Regions from separate parts of the Homo sapiens genome. Here region 1 is linked to region 2. Evidence: promoter capture Hi-C in human tissues and cell types (Jung and others, 2019). All regions are on one chromosome and are shown on one strand. The core of a region is centred on a gene start or on the middle of the fragment in contact, and the rest is flanking DNA. Distances in the headings are between cores, read along the strand shown.

Evidence for each region. The method cuts DNA at HindIII sites, captures the fragments that hold promoters and counts their contacts. A contact is called where the count stands out against the background at its distance.
Region 1: a contact is called between a fragment that was not itself captured here and the fragment with the promoter of PHACTR1 in region 2, in 1 of the 25 tissues and cell types used here (mesenchymal stem cells).

What each region holds. Positions count from the first base shown.
Region 1 is chr6:13,063,013-13,066,924 of GRCh38, reverse strand. The region is part of intron 5 of PHACTR1 (phosphatase and actin regulator 1); the gene reads right to left. Among named protein-coding and RNA genes, the nearest start is that of TBC1D7, 260 kb to the left of the region's middle. The HindIII fragment of the contact is 3,368 bases long and covers 115-3,482 here.
Region 2 is chr6:12,714,853-12,718,748 of GRCh38, reverse strand. PHACTR1 (phosphatase and actin regulator 1) reads right to left here and starts at 1,982. Exons shown (of 15, transcript NM_030948.6): 1 at 1,853-1,982; 2 at 1,006-1,240; 3 at 1-50. The coding sequence starts at 4. The region is part of intron 1 of LOC107984015 (a long non-coding RNA gene); the gene reads left to right. The HindIII fragment of the contact is 3,467 bases long and covers 1-2,330 here.

The DNA.
Region 1 (3,912 bases), core at 549-3,048, 350 kb before region 2:
TTAACCATTAGAATAATGTGACTGTAATACTAAGCCAATGTTGTACCTAAGCCTTTAAAAGGCATGGAAGCATCTTATTTTGTGCTTTTAGGGGCCCTCAGCTCCCTGCTGGAGAGACCATAGGAAGAAACCCCATGGAAAAGCCCTGAGACAACATAAACAGGGAAAGGGGCCCAGCTTTCCTCGCACCTTAGGGAGCCTCCAGATGACTCCAATGCAATCCACCTGAAAATGCATGACAGACCCCAAGAGAGACCAGCAGAAGAACAATCTCACTGAGTCCAGTCAATCCCCAAGCCATAAGAGATAATACAGAGGTTGCTGTTTTTAAGCCATTATGTTTTAGGGGGTTTTGTAACACAGCAATAGATAACCCAAACAATAATGCTGTCCAAACAACCTGAGCTTTTAACACACGCAGTCATTTAGCCTAACCTGTGCACAACTATGAAAAACTGGAAAACAATCATGAATGATGGCAAATTCTTCAAACTCGGGGACCTTCCATCTTACGCATCCATAAGTACCCTACCTCCTCTCCTCTTTCAGATCTTAGTAAACAGAGAAGCTTAAAAATATATTAATATCTGGCTGGCTGTCTTACTGACTTTCAGTTCAACATGTACTTATCCGGTACCTATTCTGTGCCAGATGCTCTGCTCAACACTAGAAGACAAGAGGATATCAGCAGAGTCAATGCTATTAAGGATTTTATAGCCTGGACTTACACGCAGAGAGTGCTGGATAAAGTTCACTTTGAGAAGAAACAATTACATCTTTTATCCAGCCCTAGAAGGTAACAGATTTCCATAGTCTTTAGTCTGTACCTGTTAGAGATTTTTTAAAAACAAAACAGGACCATTAAGTCTGCTTTGCTTTCTAACCACTAGATGGTCCCTTTGTGGGTCATGATGAATACACAACTAAAAATATTCCCTGCTTACCTATGCTGGATCTTTTTTTTTTTTTTTTAAAGAAGAAATGAAATGCTCCAATCATTCACCCAAAGGGAATATGTGATCTGGCCAGATGCTGAAGGCTATTCAACTTGGTTTGATAGTTTCTTATTAAAATCAGATGCTAACTAGTGCTCTGATTATTTGCATGTTTGCTTTTCCTAGTCACGAGAATTGTCATTGCTGAAAAATGTGTGCAAATATATTTATTTGGCTTAACAGTCACTTTGCTGATGTTTCAATTTCCCTGAGAATGCCACAGCCATGTTAAGGCAAATTTTGCAGCTTGACACAATCTAACCAATCTTAAAAAACATCCCCCTCAAGCTCACATCCCCTTTTGTTGTTTGCTATATATTTCTCATTTTCCCTCTCAACCAAACATCTTAAAAGAAGATGACTACCTCCTCTCCTCTCATTTACTCCTCAACCACATGCTATCTAAATCCCAGCTACGTGGCTTCCCTAAAGTCATAATCCCAAAGGACACCAATGATGAGTTGTCTATGCCCACCGGACACCATCTTGTCAAGATCTGCCAGGGTGGACTCTTCTTTCTGAAACTCTCTCCTCTGGTTCACCGAGACCACCAGTCCCTCCTGGTTTTCCTCCAAACTCCAGTGGGCCATCTGTCTTCTCTGTAGGCTCTGCTGCCTCTGTTCAGAACTCACAGGCTGGTGGCCCTCAGGGTGTTACTGTACCCTCGACTTTGCTTCACACTTTACTTTCTCTCTTTGGAGTTTTCATCCCAGGGCTTCCATGATCATCCAGGTGCTGATGACTTCCAATCTGCATTTCTTAGACCTCTCCTGACCCCAGTTATCTATACCCAAGGAGCCCTCCATCTGAATGTCTCAGAAGCACATGAAAGCTGGCATGGCCCCAAATAAATTCATCTTTTCCCCTCACAAATCTGCTCCTCTTCAGTGTATCTGACTTAGTCAATGGTACAATGTGGAGGAAAAGTTAAATATTAAATTTGAACTCAATTGAACATGGACACAAACAATGGTCACCAAGTCCCGGAACAGATGAGTTGAGGCGTTCATCCAGCACTGTTTTGGAGAAATCTGTATTTCAATCTATTCCTATATATTAGTTATTGAAAAACAATAGACAATCACAAAAATCAAGTTGACTTTTTGCGTTCCTTGAGCCCAGTCGCAAAGGGCCTTTGTGACTGGGCCTCATGCCAAACAACTTGTTACAAAAAGACCTAGGGTCCCAGACCACGCTGAAGCTTCATGAGACGTCTCCTCATCTGTGCAGAGACAAGCGGCTGACTCTGGAGCCCAGGCTGTTGCTTCCCGGTCTGGTGGTGAATCCTCCATAGTCTGGCAAGTGTGGATAGATAGATATATAGATATATATATATATATATATATATATATATATATATATATATATATATATATATATATCTTTTCCCTTCTCCCCTTCCCGTTGCAATTTATTATATTAATTTGCTTATTATACCATTTGCTTATTATATCATTTGCTTATTATATCTGCATTGCCATTTACGTGGGATAAAGCTTGTTTACCCTTAAAGATATTGTGTGTGTGTCTTTTCTTCTCCCCTCGTGCATCTCCTGCACAGAACATACCTCCATCCATTTAATTGCTCAGTGAGAAATCCAAGAGTGGTTTTTTATTCTTCTCCCCACTTCCACATCCAATCTGTAATCAAGTCTTGCTCGTTCTGTCTCCTAAATATCTCTTGGATCTGTTCACAGTCTTCAGTTCCTAATGTCACTATTTTAGTCTAGGCTATCTCCCTCTCTCCCCAACATTATAATCAACCACCTGCTAACCAGTCTTCTTGTTACCAGAATCAATAAGGACACAATATTCCATTTGATGTGATAGGAATGAGGTATCATCTTAATTCTATCACAAGTAAATTTTCTCTCATTACCAACACAATATTTATAGAAGTTGTTATATTATAAACTTGTAAACACCACTTGGTGCCACTCCAAGCTTTTCCCATAATATAGAGAATAATCTTTCTAAAATGCAAGTCCTCTCATAATTTCCTATTGCATTAGGATAACACCCAGACTCCTTAACATACCTCATAAGACCCTTCATGAGCAGATTCTTGTCCATGTCTTCAGCCTCATCTCTCACTACTCTCTGTCCCTTCCCCCAACAATCCTTTTCAAGTCATAATTTTTTTTTTTTTTCAGACAGGGTCTCACTCCATTGCCCAGGCTGGAGTACAGTAGTGCAAACATGACTCACTGCAGCCTTGATCTCCTGGGCTCATGTGATCCTCCCACCTTAGCCTCCCCAGCAGCTGGGACTACAGGCATGCGCCATCACACTCAGCTAATTTTTAATTTTTTTTTTTTTGTGGTAATGGGCTCTTTCTGTGTTGCCAAGGCTGGTCTCAAACTCCTGGGCTCAAGTAATTCTCCCGCTTTGGCCTCCCAAAGTGCTGGGATTACAGGCATGAGTCACCGTGACTGGACATAATTTCTTTTTAAGCTGTAGACTGTTAACCTCTCCTCTCTTCCCTGGCTCTCCTACATTCTGTTCTGCCCACCAGGAGAGATTTCCTCACATGCATTGCTAACCCCTTGGTTAAACATCCCTTTCTCTAGCAAACCTTTCCCAGTAACTTGCCACTCAGTTGGGCTTGTCTCCTTCAAGCTCTCAAAGCCCCTGTGCATCTCTTATCACTTCACTTCTGCTTTATTGTAATTGCTGGCTTTATTGTCTGTTTTCCCTTTAAGACATAACCTTTGGGAGGTAGGGGCCATGTCCGTCCTCACTGTTGCAATGGTATGGACTTCTTATGAACAATGGCAGCATCTGGCACATAAATACATTCAATATGGTAAGCTGGTATCCTTTATGAATTTCCTATAGTTTATAGAAGTCCAACAGCCTAGATTCTGAACAAGTAGACTATATTACTCTGTTAGAATGAGAAATAGGAACACCAAGG
Region 2 (3,896 bases), core at 733-3,232:
CCATCCTTGATGTTCCAAACACAGAGTTTTGAGAGAAAACACTGGAACACCTATAAAGAGGAAAAAAAAATCCACAATATTTTAGACGTCAAGTATAAAGTGTATATATAGATGTACTTTAAAATGTTTGAATAAGAATATCCCATTATAATATTCTACTACTTGATTGACATTTGCAATTCTAAAGCCACCCCCCAGCATAGCTTTCCTACCGTGTGAGAAAATGCCGCATTTAGCCAACATTCATTAAAAGTAATATATTCTACTCAGGAAAAACAGATGATCTGATCTAAAGAGAGATAACATACCAGCCTTTCCTTGCTTTATATTCTCTGGAACATATACTGTTAAATTCACATGCTATCAGTTTTCAAAAGGTCTATTTGATAAATAGCGTCATTAAGTGTCAGCCGTTGTGAGTGTTGATCCTCAGCTCATCCTGGGACTTTCGGATTCCCCTGGAGCAGGGAAAATTGCCTGGGAATCCGAGCCTCCACTCATAGATGCCGTGCGTTTATGACACACACTGACATATTTGCTGTACAAATGCTTTGAATTCCTTCCTTTCCGGCGATTCCCTTCAGCACATTTTATAAAGTGCTAGAGGATCGTCACCTGCCTGTGCCTGGCAGGGGCTGATTTTTGAGAAACAATTGTGGTTTGTAGAGCAGCAAGAATGATTGCAGCATTACAGTGATCCCTATATTATCATACACTAGCCTGTCACAAAGCTAATATACTTCCCCAGAAAACATTCAGCCTGTTGGGTTCTTTTTTCAAGCCTATGTAGCCTTTCCCTGATACTCACACAAATGAATTATCTCTATTTCTGCAGAATATTTTTTTGGAAAGAATTAACAAGACAAAGTCATTAAAACCAAGCTTGGAAGTCTAATCCAATTGGTTTCTCTTTCTAACAGTATGTATTTTAATTTAAGAAACCAAGTCCGGTAAGACAAAACTTTTAAAAATACCCAAAGGTACCCCAATAGCAAATATACTTACTGCAAAAAATAAAAATCAAAGGCTATCTGTCAGCGGTAAAACAAGAGCCGTTCCAGCCAGAGTGTCTTTGATCTTGCTAAATATTCCCGGTGAAAGTAAACGATTTTGATTGTTTGATTAGAACAGTGATGAATAATGCATACAGTCCACTGGACTTCCTTTATCAGATAAAATGGCCAGAGCACGTTACCTTAGCAACGGAAGGTGACGCCAGCCTCAGCCTCTGCACCCTCCCCTGCGAAGGGAGAAAATTACCAGTTTCCCGTGTAAAACTTTGGCAGAAAATCATCAAATCCACATGCATACATCATGCAGGGCTATTCCCCAGCCCCCTATCTCTTAGGCAGAGAAGTGCCATAGTCATTAAAAAAAAAACAAAACAGATTTATGTCTTCATTGTTTATTTTCATAATCCCAAATCTTAGTTTGATTTGCAGCTACAAAAGAATAGAATATGAAATGATTAAAAATTTAATATATAGAAAAGTTGTCTAGAAATTTTTGTGGGGGCACCAGTTATTACCCTAATGCTGGCCTAAGAGTGGCAGGGAATGGGGGAGTTTAGGGAAAGGCCATTTTAGCTTAACATACGTTAGACATTCCCCTGTTATAATTAATACACAGAACAGCCACCGGCATCTAGGCTGAAAATAACTCTTCCCTTCTGCAAATCAGTCACTGGAAGAAGCTTAAAAAGCTGTCTGAAATTTCCCAGATTCTGAAAGACATATTATAGCATAGATTTTGTGGGAGATCCCCACTCCCCCCACAACCCCCATCCCCGGCAAAGGAAAATTAGCCAAAAAGATATTTGAAAGGAAGAGTCTGGAAGTTAGCGGATACTCACCGGCACTTGTTGACCCCTTTCAACAGGACACGGTAGAGTACAAAACAAAGCAGTGCGACGCTTCTGAGCCCGCAAGCACAAATGAACAGCTTCTAATTTTCCCTTCAATCTCGCTTCAAGAGCACTGAGCAGAGGGAAGTGATGGATTTGCCCATTTATACTGTGATGAAATGCAACCCTTAAGAAGAGATCTGAGTGGAGCTGCTCTTTAGAACACATTAGACTGCTAATTTAAGAAAATTGAAAGGTTTTGTTTTACTGTCTTTTATGTGTTCTTCTCTGCTACCCCCTCAATTTAATTTGCATTTAAAATTATTCTCATGTCTCCTCAGCTCTCCAAGGTGTGGAGTACTTTCTAATCATGAAGGCTGCTCCAGTAGGGTTTGGTGCAACACCACTTTTATGCTGAGCTGCAAAACAAGGCAGGTAGTCATAATTGTGAGCTGTTTTCTGGAGCGAAATACAGAGGGCACGTTTGATGTCACCCCTTCCCTCTTGCCTGGCTTTCTTCCTTTCCTTGCTTCTGATTGCCTGGTCAAATATCCAGCGCAGATCATGCCAGTCTGCCTAAATGCATTTCTCTCTGTCTGAATGTAACAAAATAATACCAACAACAAAAATAAACTTTGGCTAGTATCTCAAGTTATTCTGGTTTAATATTCTTCCTACCAAACCTCAGTAATGACTTTTAGGCACAGTACTTTGAGATCTTCATGCAGGGCATAGTGATAGCCAAATGCAAGCCCTACTGTGGGTTTTCCACAACCTCTTGCACCCTTTGTTGACCAAGCAGAATTGCTCATTAGTATGGTGTGGTGTACAGTGGGTCAGCTTGTTAAGAAAAGAGCATTTACATTTGATAAGCCTCGGAAGGAAGACCATCAACACCACCCCTGTCCCCCCACTCCCTATACACAGCTCGGCTGGCTGCCCTTGAAACAAACCTGAAAATCCTCTGCTGTTTGTTTTGTGGGGTCTCCCTCTCCCACCCGATCAGAACAGATCAGACACCAAGCCGGTGCTGCAGACAGTTAAGCCTCATGAAAAAGGAAGCTGAAACTACCAATCATATGCCCTTGTAGGAAAGTCAACTATGGACTCTGAATTCTGAAAGCTTTGCTCCAACCCAAGGACTGACTTCTTTAAGGTTACTTTTCTATTCAGCACCCACTGGAGACATGCTGAACACTTGACATTTATAAGAGGAGAAAGCTGTCTTCTGGTTCCTTTTACTTACTGTGAGGTGTGGGCGACAGGTTCTGAACTCGTTATTGTAATTCTACTGAAATTGTAATGACTCATAGATGAGAGAAAGAGAGAGAGAGAGAGTATAAGTCTATGCTGCTGACCAAACCTTTAGGTGAGTGCAAATGAATGTGTGATTGAAGAAAGAGATGCTAAACTGGAAATGTGAAAAATAGAGTTGATTCCCAGGGGGTAGGTGGTGGATTTGGAAGTCAGTCATTTCTGGAGAGTTGACCAAGAAAGAGAAATTTAAAATACTTTACAAAGTGAACAAATAATATGAAAGGGTCGTAATTTAAGAAAACTCAGGAGGGAAAATTTCAACTTAAAGAAATGTATTTGGGGCCGGGCACAGAGGCTCATGTCTGTAATCCCAGCACTATGGGAAGTCAAGGTGGGTGGATCACCTGAGGTTAGGAGTTCAAGACCAGCCTGGCCAACATGGTGAAACCCCATCTCTACTAAAAATATAAAAAATTAGCCAGGCATGGTGTTGGGTACCTGTAATTCCAGCTACTTGGGAGGCTGAACAGGAGAATCGCTTGAACCTGGGAGGTGGAGGTTGCAGTGAGCTGAGATCATGCCATTGCACTCCAGCCTGGGTGACAGAGCAAGACTCTATCTCAAAAAAAAAAAAGAAAGAAACAAAGAAAGAAATGTATTTGGGAAGGGGATGATTATTCATTTGCAAACAGGGACTTACTTTTACTAAATAATTATCACTGTGTTCTGTAGCATCATATGACCAACTTCTGTAATAGATTTTCAAAAAATGATCTCACTCTCTGGGGAATATAGC